Linked DNA regions of Homo sapiens: regions 2, 3 and 4 are each linked to region 1. The links are contacts of gene promoters, found by promoter capture Hi-C in blood cells and fetal thymus (Javierre and others, 2016). All regions are on one chromosome and are shown on one strand. The core of a region is centred on a gene start or on the middle of the fragment in contact, and the rest is flanking DNA. Distances in the headings are between cores, read along the strand shown. Region 1 holds the start of FAM219B (family with sequence similarity 219 member B). Region 2 overlaps MAN2C1 (mannosidase alpha class 2C member 1). Region 3 overlaps C15orf39 (chromosome 15 open reading frame 39). Region 4 overlaps CLK3-AS1 (CLK3 antisense RNA 1).

What was found. Contacts are between HindIII fragments. The CHiCAGO score rates a contact against its expected background, and 5 or more counts as called.
Region 2: a contact is called between a fragment that was not itself captured here and the fragment with the promoter of FAM219B in region 1, in 2 of 17 cell types (monocytes and neutrophils). The highest score is 5.8, in monocytes.
Region 3: a fragment that was not itself captured here is called in contact with the fragment with the promoter of FAM219B in region 1 in 1 of 17 cell types (M0 macrophages); the score reaches 5.0 in M0 macrophages.
Region 4: a contact is called between a fragment that was not itself captured here and the fragment with the promoter of FAM219B in region 1, in 4 of 17 cell types (neutrophils, non-activated CD4 T cells, activated CD4 T cells and 1 more). The highest score is 6.9, in neutrophils.

The regions. Positions count from the first base shown.
Region 1 is chr15:74,905,177-74,908,312 of GRCh38, reverse strand. FAM219B (family with sequence similarity 219 member B) reads left to right here and starts at 1,462. Exons shown (of 5, transcript NM_020447.5): 1 at 1,462-1,726; 2 at 1,948-2,035; 3 at 3,082-3,136. The coding sequence starts at 1,513. RefSeq lists enhancers at 1,120-1,399, 1,241-2,045, 2,046-2,852 and a silencer at 1,460-1,759. The HindIII fragment of the contact is 3,941 bases long and covers 384-3,136 here.
Region 2 is chr15:75,362,842-75,365,977 of GRCh38, reverse strand. MAN2C1 (mannosidase alpha class 2C member 1) reads left to right here. Exons shown (of 26, transcript NM_006715.4): 5 at 1,313-1,490; 6 at 1,790-1,979. Among named protein-coding and RNA genes, the nearest start is that of MAN2C1, 4.2 kb to the left of the region's middle. The HindIII fragment of the contact is 8,016 bases long and covers 1-3,136 here.
Region 3 is chr15:75,210,189-75,213,324 of GRCh38, reverse strand. It overlaps C15orf39 (chromosome 15 open reading frame 39), which reads right to left. Exons shown (of 3, transcript NM_015492.5): 3 at 1,156-2,576. The coding sequence ends at 2,209. Among named protein-coding and RNA genes, the nearest start is that of C15orf39, 9.9 kb to the right of the region's middle. The HindIII fragment of the contact is 6,741 bases long and covers 1-3,136 here.
Region 4 is chr15:74,611,961-74,615,096 of GRCh38, reverse strand. CLK3-AS1 (CLK3 antisense RNA 1) reads left to right here. Exons shown (of 9, transcript XR_007064715.1): 1 at 1-3,136. It also overlaps a transcript of CLK3 not described here. Among named protein-coding and RNA genes, the nearest start is that of CLK3-AS1, 2.3 kb to the left of the region's middle. RefSeq lists a silencer at 167-486. The HindIII fragment of the contact is 509 bases long and covers 1,408-1,916 here.

The DNA of each region.
Region 1 (3,136 bases), core at 213-2,712:
TTGGTTGGTTGTTTTTGAGACAGCGTCTTGCTCTGTTGCCTAGGCTGGAGTGCAGTGGCCTGATCTCGGCTCACTGCAACCTCCGCCTCCTGGGTTCAAGCGATTCTCCTGCCTCAGCCCCTGAATAGCTAGGATTATAGGCACCCGCCACCACGCCCGGCTAATTTTGTATTTTCAGTAGAGATGGGGTTTCACCATGTTGGCCAAGCTGGTCTTGAACTCCCTACCTCGGGTGATCCGCCTGCCTCAGCCTCCCAAAGTGCTGGGATTACAGATGTGAGCCACTGTGCCCGGCCAGAAAACTACTTCTTTGGAGTCCACAGGCAACTGGGTACAAATTCCAGGTTTATCACTTAACTGGTAAACTTGACCAAGTCTAAGCTTCATTTGTTTAACAAGAATAACTATTGGCTTCATTGGGAGGTTATAACCATTAAATACTAAGTTGAGCTATATGAACCTGCTGTTTCTGGAGGCAAAAACAGTCTAACATCATGGGGAGTGGGGGGAATCTACCAAAATGGTAAGGATTCCTTTGTGCTTTTGATTTTTGAAAACTTCAGCCCTAAATTCTTCCTTTTCACCTCTCTTGCCCAAGGCATAGTGCCACCCAACGGTCTGCGTGGCCCTGGGAGCTCGGAGGTTGCACACTGTTGACCTACCCTATTGAAGCCAGTAAGTTAGTCAAGGGACAGCCTCATGAGATTTGGGAGTTCTACAAGGATCTGGAGTTTCTTTCCAGCCAGTCACAAGCACATCCCTTGGGGGCTAGAGAAGTCAAGAGCCCTGACACATAGCCTACCACACACAGACTCAGAGTGCACTTTCACCCTCCTTTTCAACGCCTATTTGCCTCACTGTACAATGAGTAGTGACATTGGCTCTATTTTTAAATGTGGAAACTGAGGCCTAGAGAGGGTCAGGTCCTGTCCAATGTCACAGGCACCAATTGGTGTTGGAAAGAAGGTGGGGTTTGGCGTCAGATGGATCAGCGCAAGCACTGCCTCTAGATGTGTCACCTTCACAAGGTTCTTTAACTTCTGGGGCCTGTTTCTTTTGCTAGAAAAGGTCGCTGATAACGCTTGTCCTCATATGACTCTTCAACCCAAGTCTGCTCTCTGGCAGCCCCACATGTGGGGAGACCCCCAAGGAGACACTGCGAGAAGCACAGAGTGCGGCGCGCCAGGACTCAAACCGTGGGCACCCGACCGACGCACACGCGCAGCCCCACGACAGTATCAGTATTTAATTTCCACTAGAGACAGAACTAAGCCTAACCATCACCAGGCTCAAGCCGCCTACCCCAAAACCGAGAACGGAACTGCCCGGTCCCCCCGAAAAGAAGGGCGGAACATTTCGGCCAAGTCCTCAGACTACCGAACCGGAGAGCTCCGAAAGGGGACTACCTGCGCCTGCGCACCGCCATCTTGTTAAAAGAGCCCGCCTCTCCCTCGGCCGGTCACTCTTTCGCCACGGGCGGGGTTGCACCATCCGGCAGGGCGGGGCCCGGCCATGGCGACCGCGGAGCCCAGCGGGCGCGCGTTGCGGTTGTCTACCCCGGGACCCCGGCCCAGCGGGGCTCGGGACCGCGCGCCGGGAGCTGCGGGGCCACCCTCCGGGCAGATCGGTAATAGAGCCCTCCGTCTGGGGGAGCGCACCCCCGCGGCCGTGGAAAAGCGGGGGCCATACATGGTGACGCGCGCACCCTCCATTCAAGCCAAGCTGCGTGAGTGTGGCCCGATGGTCGGGGGAGGTTTCTCCCTGGGCGGGCGGCCGCGTCCCCAGGGCGGGTTCCGGAGCTCCGCTGGGCCTCGGCCCCGGAGGGAAGGGGTTAGCTGCAGCCTGCTCTCGCCCCTCAAAATCCGTTCGGAAAGAGCGGCCTCCCAGCCTTCGGGAGACGCGGCGGAGTGGGGAAGACCCGGCTGACCCGGGTCCTTTAACTTCCAGAGAAGCACCGGGACCTGGCCAAGGCCGTTCTGCGGAGAAAAGGCATGCTGGGGGCCTCGCCGAACCGCCCAGACTCTTCAGGGAAAAGGTCTCAGCAGGCGCCACCTCCTCTGTGCCAGCAGCTTTAGAGAAGGCTTTAATCCCCAGGACGGAGGCAGGGTGCTCTGGTTTAAGGCCGAGCTAGCGATTCCCCTGATGCAACCTGTCAGGTTCACTATCTTTAAAATGGGAAGAGGAACAATCTCTCTTTTCCTTTAAGGATGTGATAGGATCAGATAAAGGGCTTCGGAATAAGGGAGTTCTGTGAGTGCACAGGCTCATTCACTATCATTCTCCTCCTCTGTTAGGGAGGAGAATGGTGGCTGGAGTCCCCAGCAATGAGGACGAAGAGCAGTGTGGGAATGGCTAGACCTGTTTTTGTTTGTTTGTTTTTAACAGAATAGTAAACTCGGAGCTGCATAGAACCTTATTCAGTGCCTCCTTTTACAGATGAGGGTTGAAACTCGGAGAAGTGAAGGTTAACCCTAACCTTTTACCCAAAGACTTGCAGTTTTTGTGTCCTCTGATTAAATAAGTGGGGAGAGGGTGCTTTTCCTAGATCAGGCAAGGGGAGGTGTGCTTTTTTCCAAGACCTATGGGAGGAGTAGAATACAGGCCGGGCGTGGTGGCTCACGACTGTAATTCCAGCACTTTGGGAAGCCGAGGCGGGTGGATCACTTGAAGTCAGGAGTTCGAGACCAGCCTGGCCAACATGGTGAAAGCCCGTCTCTATTAAAAATACAAAATTAGCTGGGCACGCCTGTAGTCCCAGCTACTCAAGAGGCTGAGGCAGGAAAATCACTTGAGCATGGTAGGCGGAGATTGCAGTGAGCCGAGATCGCGCCACTGCACTGCAGCCTGGGTGACAGGGCCAGACTCTGTCTCCAAAAAAAGAAAAAAAGAATGAGAACATACACATTCTGAGGCACTGTAGCCAGGTACATGGAGCTGCAGGCAGTGGTGGCTGTGACCAGGGAGAAGGCAAGTCAGTAGTGCAGTCAATTCTTTCTCCTTCAGGGCGAGGACTCTGCCTATCCCTGTGAAATGCCTATGCTTTCATCTATGTTTGGTCTCTTCTCCCCCGTCTCCCCTCAGGTCAGTGAAGTTTAACAAGGGCTATACTGCTCTTAGCCAGAGTCCAGATGAAAAC
Region 2 (3,136 bases), core at 307-2,806, 460 kb before region 1:
GTAGCAGGGATTACAGGTGTGTGCCACCACGTCCAGCTATTTTTTTTTTATTTTTGGTAGAGAAAGGGTTTCACCGTGTTGGCCAGGCTACTCTCAAATTCTTGACCTCAGGTTATCCGCCCCTCTCAGCTTCCCAAAATGCTGGAATTACAGGCGTGAGCCACCGCACCTGGCCCAGTATTCATGTTCTTGGTGTATCTTTCCGGCATAGTTTTTTTTGTTTTTTCGGGGGGGTTTTTTTGGATTTTTTTGAGACGGAGTTTCGCTTTTGTTACCCAGGCTGGAGTGCAATGGCACGATCTCGGCTCACTGCGACCGCCGCCTCCCAGGTTCAAGCAATTCTCCTGCCTCAGCCTCCCTACTAGCTGAGATTACAGGTGCCCACCACCATGCCCAGCTAATTTTTTGTATTTTTAGTAGAGACGGGGTTTGACTCTGTTGGCCAGGCTGGTCTCAAACTGCTGACCTCAGGCTATCCACTTGCCTGAGTCTCCCAAAGTGCTGGGATTACAGGAATGAGCCACCGTGCCCGGCTCATCCCGGTATAGTTTTTACTAGTTAAGATTGTATCCTGACTTCTTACATTCCATGTTATAACATGGACATTTTATGACACCATTAAAAACACTTCTTAGACATTATGAATGTATTTTATATAGATTGACACTGTTTCAGATGCTTTCAGACACTGGGAGTATGGTGGTGAATAAAATAGCCCTTGCCAACAAAGGGAGACAGATTCACTCATATAATTACAAAACTGAGGGCTCTGGAAGGAAATCCTGGGTACTCCACTGAGGAATTTGCTCTAGACTTAGCAGCGAAGTGGAGTCAGGAAGGCCTCCCTAAGGAAGTCGTGTTTGCTCTCTGAAGCCTAAGTATGGCATCACCACAGCCCAGCCTGTTCTCCAATGAATGGCCCGCCCATGTTGGCCGTGTTGGTTTTAGATCTTGGGTCTAAAAGTTTGAGCCTGGGAGATCCGAACATGATTTTAATATGCAAAGAGGGTTCCAAGACCAAGGCAGTGCTTTGCAAAGACAACTTTGGAAATATAAGACTAAACAGCAGCGTACTTTACATGGTTCCAAACTTTGCTACTTATTCTCTCTGACAGCAAGACATGGGATCCATCTGGTGTTTGTACCACAACCCTCCCACATGCACTCTTGTCACACTGTGGGATCCTCTGGGTAGTGGATCCTGGAAGCAGACAGGTTGGGCTCAGCTGGATGCCTCCTGGGTGCCCCTTCCCCAAGTCCCCGGAGTACTGTGCCAGTCCCTTAGCCTGAGGCTGTCTCCCCATCTTTGTAGCCTCACTCTCTATGTGGAAGTAGCCTGCAATGGGCTCCTGGGGGCCGGGAAGGGAAGCATGATTGCAGCCCCTGACCCTGAGAAGATGTTCCAGCTGAGCCGGGCTGAGCTAGCTGTGTTCCACCGGGATGTCCACATGCTCCTGGTGGATCTGGAGCTGCTGCTGGGCATAGCCAAGGTACTTGACACCCCCTGTACCCCCTGCTACCCTCTAGAGCCCTGCTCCAAGAAGGTTGTTCTTTGGGTCAGATAAATGGGACTCTGGGAATCCAGAGTAGGACGAGGGTTTCCACCTGCTTGAGGGTTGAGAGAATTTTCCTATGTGAAGGGGAGGAGGGAGACGGTGCTGAGCAGGGGGACCAGCAGGGAAAAAGGGTTGGGGGTCAGGGGAGCTCTGCTGAGAGCCCTGAGATCAGTGGAGCCTAGGTCTGGAAGCTGTGCTTGAAAAAGGGATTAAGGGGCAGAACCCTGCTGCAGGGCCTCGGGAAGGACAACCAGCGCAGCTTCCAGGCCCTGTACACAGCCAATCAGATGGTGAACGTGTGTGACCCTGCCCAGCCCGAGACCTTCCCAGTGGCCCAGGCCCTGGCCTCCAGGTTCTTTGGCCAACATGGGGGTGAAAGCCAACACACCATTCATGCCACAGGGCACTGCCACATTGATACAGGTAGGACAGCAGCTGGTTGGGCTGGCTGGGGAAGCAGGAGTGCCCTTGAAGACCTGGATGTGCCCTAGAAGCACTGTGTGATGCTCAGCAAGTTCTTGCTCCTCTTGGACCTGCGTTTTCCCCGTCTGTAAAACGGGGCCGGGGGGCTGGACTGTGGGCTCTGCTTGCTTTGGATTCACTTTTTTTTTTTTTGAGACGGAGTCTCACTCTTGTCACCCAGGGTGGAGTGCAATGGTGTGATCTCGGCTCACTGCAACCTCTGCCTCCCGGGTTCAGGCGATTCTCTTGCCTCAGCCTCCTTAGTAGCTGGGATTACAGGCACCCACCACAATGCCTGGTTAATTTTTGTATTTTTAGTAGAGACGGGGTTTCACCACGTTGGCCAGGCTGGTCTCAAACTCCTGACCTCAGGTGATCCGCCTGCCTTGGCCTCCCAAAGTGCTGGGATTACAGGCATGACCCACCGTGCCCAGCCTCATTTATTCTTTCAACAAAATCTGATGCCTCATGGGGCCCATGCTAGATATTGAGGGTAGGATTACAGAGACAGATTCAGCAGGCAGAGTTGGTGTCACAATGGTGGGGAGTCTGAGGCACTGGAGAGCACAGGAGAGGTACTTACTCCAGCTGGGTTGGGGGATTCCAGAGAGGCTTCCTGGACAAGTTTGCAGTGTCTGAGTTTTACGGGAAATCCACATTTTTAACAAGCTCCTGAAGGTATTGATTCTGATGCAGCCGAAGTTTTGGGATCACAGAACAAGGGCTTTCTCTGCTGTGCCAAGATGTAGGGTAAGGTGTGAGAGGTTCTGGGCTGGTAAGGGAGGAACTGCAGCCTGGGAGTCAGGAGAGGCTGTAGCACCTCTGGTAGGACAGCTGGCTCCATCCTGGGAGCCATGCCTCTGTTCCCAGGTATACATCAAGTTTGTGCAGGGGCAGGGTAGTCCCTGCTACTTCTCGTAGGATCCTCTAGGGGATGTCTAATTCCCCAAGAGGACTGAGGCTATTCTGGGGCCTGGAGCCTCCATTTCCTGACCTGTATAATTGGCCTCATAGCACTGCCGCCTCCTTTCCCCAGCCCCTCCTCCCACCTCGCTGGAGTGAAGTGAAGTGACCACTTAGGAGGGACACCACAGGGCTTTCCAGGGTGAAGGGCCTGG
Region 3 (3,136 bases), core at 292-2,791, 300 kb before region 1:
AGGAAAAGGAATAAAGCGCTCACTCCATTAAGGTGCTGACGATGAGATGGATGTGACTGATGGGGCTGACGAGGTGCCCATGGCTGCCCAGGGCCCGGGGGGCCCAGAGTTCAGAAACTCCACCTCCACTGCAATTCTTTCCTCCCTGTAGTAGTGTCAAATGATTCCACGTGGCTCACATCCCCATTCTTCAGGTTGTGGGACTGAGTCCCTGGGTTGCTGGATTTCTAGCCAGGCTTCCAAGCCCTGCTCCTGCCCCTTCTGGTTCTGGGAGCTCCAGCCTCGCCTGGGGATTTTCCTGTTCCAGACTCACCAAGACTCTGCACGTGCGGCTCTCTCTACCCAGACCCCACTTTGCATGTGATTTTGTATTTGTCTTCAAGGTCCAATTCAGGTATCACCTCTTCTGGGACCCAAGGACCCTCCACCCTGGTTGTCACTGCAGCAGCCACAATGTGTTGTGGTTACCTATCCCTTCACAGCCCAGTAGCTCTTCTTGGGCCTATATGAACAATGGAAGGGGACAATGGCAGCTGCCACTCCAAATCCCAGCCTAGTGTTAAGGCCAGGCTGGCACAGGAGGGACAGTGCAGCTGGGCTCAGTGACCACCACCAGGATGCCACACAGGTCCAACAAGCCCCAGTGGACTGGCCCCTGGCCCAGGGGGAGTGGGAAGACAGGCCCAGGAAGCCACCTTAGCTGCCCTGAGAACAAGCCTCTGGGGGAACAGAGCCCAGCAGGGGCAGGGTCTCCAGAGGGTGGGCCCAGCACACTACCCCCCACCCTCCAAGCTAAGGTCAGTGGGATGCATGGTCACCAGCAATGGGGAGGCTGTAACAGTTCTACCCAGACCATGAAAGACATGTCTGGCCCTGGGAGAGAGGCACGTGCTGGGTCTAATGACCAGCATTTCTCACCAGGCAGTAGCCCACAGACCAACAACCACGAGGACCCACGGGGTCTCAGGAGAGAGGGCTTTCCCAGAGCAAGCAAGTATGTGTGTGAGAGGGGTCCACAGAGCCACAGCCATCTGCACGAGGGTGCAGAAGCACCTTCTGGACTGGGAGCAGGGAGAGCAGCCTGCGAGCAAAGGGCTAAGCACACAGTGACGGAACATGAAACCGACCATCCCCAAACACACGGACAGGCCCCACTTCCAAAAACGAGCCAGATGCTTTAATGGGCTGCCTCCAGGGCCCATCGGCTCATCAGAATCCCTTAAATGAGGCCCAGAGCTTGCCAGCCTTTGGTTGAGCTCAGCACTCCACAGGCAGGTGGCTCACAGCAGGCCTGGCTGATGGGCTCTGGCTTGGGGAGCAGCAGGGTCCTCAGTCCAGATCTTCAGAGACCTTCTAGGACTGAGCTGCCACTCAGCCTACCTGCACCAGTCCCTGAGTCCCAGCAGCTGCTTAGCTTCTAGAAAACATAAGTTTCCTGGGATAATGCCAGGGGTGGGGGAGGCAGTTCAGGGAAGCACTGATGTCAATTCAGGACAGGCCTGGGGCCTCCTGGGGTGGCGGCAGCAGCAGGCCCAGAACAAGGACGCCAGCTCCAGGCTGCATCCCTGCACCAGTAGCGGGGATTGGGAGCAGGGAGTGCAGGCTCCCTCAGGGAGCTCCAGGCTGGAGTAGGGCCAACCCAACCCCAAATGCTGGGGGGTGACTCCTGAAAGTGTGAGTCACATCCACTGCCTAAGGTACCACTCTACGATAGCCAAGTCCTAGGACACACGAAGACTTTCTATAGGAAGGTTCTCTGCCTCCAATTCTAGGCCCTGTCCCAGAGAGGAAGCAGAGACCAAATGGTGACAGGGTATGTATCAGGCAGCATCCCCACAACAACCCTGTGAGGTAGGTTGCGTTGTCCCATTTTACACATGGGGAATGAGGGCTCAGCAGAGGTGAAGTTTCTTGCCCAGGTCCTGCAGCAAGAACACGAGCCGGGATTCAAGCCCAGGTCTGTCGGGCTCCAAAGCCCATGTGTGTTCTCTAGGCAAGAAATAGGGAGTAGTCCTATCCAATAAAGACCCTCACGTTAAAAGCTCAGGGGCTCTTCAGCCCACCCTGAATGGGCCACAGGGTCAGAGATGGAACCCCTCCAGGGGAGCAGCCACAGCCCCAGCATCCACTCGTGGCCCCGGGGCAGCTGGGCAGGCAGAAGGGAAGGGTGGAGAGTGACTGCTATACACACAGCACTGGCAACCAGTGCTACAGGTGATGGCTCTGGCTGTCCAGCAGCTGTGGGCAGGGTGAGGGCTGGTCTGGTCTTGAGGACTTGTGGCCCCAGGTGGGCAGAGCCAGGCCATTGAGCCAGGCGGTCTCCAGCAGACTGCGGAAGCGGGCCTTCAGTGTGGGGCCAGGTGGGCTGGCACTGGTAGCAGGGGTAGGGGAGGCACCACAGGACTCTTCCCCAGCAGCTGCCTCTGCTTTCTCCGGGCCAGGGGTTGGTGGCTTCCTGCCTGGCTTCCTGACCTTGGGGGCCGGTGACTTCTGAGCCAGGGCTAGGCTCTCTGGCTCACCTCTGGCCACAGTGGGCTCTGAGGAGGACACAGCTCCAGCCTCAGTGTCAAAGTCACCTGGAAAACGAACACATAGTCAGCCTGCAGACCCCATACCCTCAGGTCCCACCTCCTGGCTTCCAAAGCCATCCAAACAGTGCTTCTGCTCTGCCCCAAGTCAGGCTGGCATCACAACTCTTCCCCACACATGCCCACTGGCCAGACCATCCAAGCAAAAAAGATGTGCTTCTCCCCAGGTGACACCAGAACTCTATCTGATGAGGGCACCACTCAGGAGAGGCTGTTTGGGTACAAGGATGAGAGCAAAGGGGCTCAGCAGGTCAGGAACCATTGGCCTGGTCCAATACCCATTGCTCAGATGGAAAACTGAGGCATGGGAACAGAGGACCCTGCCATATATAAGACAGCCATCATGTTTCTGCCATACCAGCCCCAGAGACCAAGCCCAAGCCCGAGGCCGAGCCCAGGTAGGGACTGTCCTAAGAGCCATGCTGGGGGAGCACAGGAACCCACCCACAACAAAGGAAGGCAGGGATAACTGTCTAGGGGCACACAGAGAAAAACGGCCCCCAAGGTGGGAGGGAGTGAGGACAGGGGCAACAAAATTCAGCCAGAAG
Region 4 (3,136 bases), core at 413-2,912, 290 kb after region 1:
TTTGCAGAGGCCTCGAGCGTGGGGTCACCAAAATCCCTGACACCTACTGTCCCGCGCCGGGTCGGACAGGATTACGAGGCCCCACTTTCCAGATGAGAAAACTGAGGTGGGGATCTTTTGAGACCTCACTGTGAGCGTGCGCGTCCCGCCCGGTCTGGGAGTGGCGTCCCCGGCCTCGCGAGCGTCGCGCAGTGAAGCGACAGGGCGTGGCGCCTAATTGTCCCCACGCCACGCGAGGGCTAGAAACCCGCAGTCGGGGCGGACCATCCCTCCAGGCACCGCCCCCTCCTTGGGACCGCTCCGCGGGGGCGCCAAGGGTTTCCCCAGCACCGCCCCGGCGGCCGCCAGCCAGCCGCGGCCCCGCCCATGCCCCTCCCCGCGGGTCTGGGCCCGCCCCTGAAGCGGGGAGGTGTCGCAGGGGAGCCCCCCGCTTCCGAGCTGCGGCTGCGCATCAAGTCCTTCGCCAGCGGCTCTCCCTGAAACGGGGGGTTTCAAGGCGTGATTTGTAGGGGTGTTTAGTATCCCCTAAATCTCTGCCAGCTCCACCATGGCTATCCGAAGTAAACAACAGAAGCTAATTCAAAACTGGGTCCCCTTCCAAAAAATTACAAAAATTAGCCGGACTGGGTGGCGCATGCCTGTAGTTCCAGCTCCTTGCAGGGGACTGAGGCAGGAGGATCGCTTGATCCCAGGAGGTTGAGATTGCAGTGAGCTATGATCACACCACTGCACTCCAGCCTGGTCGACAGAAGGAGACCCTGTCTCAAAAAATAAACAAAAAATCGGCCAAGCGCGGTGGTTCACCCCTCTAATCCCAGTACTTTGGGAGGCTGAGGTGGATGATCACCTGAGGTCAGGAATTCGAGACCAGTCTGGCCAACATGGCGAAACCCCGTCTCTACTAAAAATACAAAAATTAGCTAGACGTGGTGGCACGCGCCTGTAGTCCCAGATGCTCGGGAGGCTGAGGTGGGAGAATCACTTAAACCCGGGAGGCAGAGATTGCAGTGAGCCGAGATCGCGCCACTTCACTGCAGCCTGCGCAAGAGAGCAAAACTCCGTCTCAAAAAAGAAAGTTAGGAGCCGCTTCAGTGTACAGTGGGTGACCCAGATTGGCTGCTGAGGTCCTGCCCCCTAAGGTCCTATCTCAAAAGCTGAAGATTTTGAAAAATCCCAGGCCATCTGAGATGCCATTCCTGCCTGGTACCCATGGCCTCGACCACACTAGCCAGGTTCCATCTCGGGGTTTCATCAGCTCAGATGAGGTGGAGTAGGAGGCCTCTCTGGTGTCTCCTCCTCCCACCACTTAGTGTTGCCTGAGTTTCCATGGCTCCAGGATACTAGCCCTGAGGGATGGATGTTCTCAGAGAAGCTTCTGTCCCCGGGATGGATGTTCTCAGAGAAGCTTCTGTCCCCAGCCCTGCCCTGAGCTATAGGCTCTGATGGGGTAAGTTAGTCACCTTCCCACAAAACTGCCCACCACTGAGAATCCAGGAGTCCCTACCTCCCAGCCACGAAGCAACTCTCTTTTTCTGAGGTGGAACAGAAGCCATCTCCCAGCTGTCTCCCTCTCCACACTTTGCAGCCTGGAGGCCATCCTGCCTGAGATTCTACCCTTAGAGCTTCATTCTTTTGTGACTTTCACACCTTTCAGAAACTTGGAGAAAGATCTGCCCCCAGGTGAGGTTTGGGTAACTCCTCCACTCCCATCCCCACCTCAGAGGAGGCTTGCTCCACCTCCACTGCCCCTCAGGCCCAAGCTCCTGTCTGGGTCCTCAGCCTCTGTGGAGTTGAGGTCTGTAGCATATCTCAAGGGCACTGGGGAGGTGCCGCTGCCCTGCATCCTCCCAAACCCCACAGCTCCTCTCACCCCTTTTGGTCTCCCTTTTGCCCCCCACCTCCACTTCCACCAAGCTTAGGGCTCAGTTCACTGCCCGCCAGGCCCAGCTGCTCTGATGCCCTCCTTGTTCTATTGTCCTTACTGTCTCCTCTGTCTGCCTCATCTGACTTTGCCTTCTCTGGAGGCAGTTAATTCACCTCTGAGCCTTGGCCCCAGGGTCACCTCCCTGGAAAGCCTTCCTGGGGCTGCCCTGGCCTGCCCCCCTGCTCAGGACAATCTGGCCTGCATGTGCACTCCATTCTGTGGACCATGAGCCCCTCCCGGACCAAGCTGGGCACAGCTCAGCTTCTCACTAAGGGCAGGGGGCTGCCATGGAAAGCCTGTCACTTCTAACTGGCAAGACAGAGCACCCAGGTAGAGTGGCATTGTGGGAGCTGTACCCAGTATGGGAGGTGGGGGCAGCGGCCAGTCCTCATGGTCTGTCTTAGAGAAGCCTTGTGTGGCAGTGACATTTTGGAGGGGAGACAATTTTGGAGGGGGCTGCAGGAGCCTGGGCCTGGAGTAAGGGGAGAGGAGAGTCAAGCTGTCCAGTGGGGAGAAGGCCTGGTGGGCGATGGTGCCATCCTGAGTGGAGAAGGCCTGGGAATGTGAGGAGTGGGGAGGTCAGGGTGGGGGTGGTAGAGGTGCTAGGTGTAACCACTGCTTAGGTGAAGACAACTCCTGTGCCCTTTCAGAGCCAGGGCAGGGTGCCTCGTGCCCAGGGTTGGGAGTTGGGAGGCAGTGGACTTGGGCCCAGACCCTAGAGGTGAGGAGGGTGATGGTGAGGGGTGTAGGGATGGCAACACTGGCAGAATAGCCCCTGTCTACCCTCTGACCTTCCTCACCAAGCTGGTGGGTGAGAGGTCCGTCAGGGCCTCCATATTACAGCTGAAGCTATGGAAGCCAGAGAGGTACCTGAGCAGTGACTTGACTTAAGGGCTCTGACCCCCACATCATAGCTAAACTGTGGTGGCCCCCAAATGCTCCCCTGCCATTTCCAGACTTCCACACTGGAAGGGGGAACGTGGCTCTGGTGCAGACAGTGTTGGGTGGGGATTGCAGCTCCTCACGGGACTCCCTGCCGGACTTGGGCACCAATTTCCCCTCAGGAGTGCCTGCTGCGCCTCCCCAGACCAGCTGCTGTGAGGATAATGGGGTTTGTGTTCAGCAAGTGGCCACCCCTGGCAGCACCCACAGCTCATGGAAACCACTGGGAACTGAGAACTGTTTAGTGGAGTTGAGGCTGGTGTTTAGTGA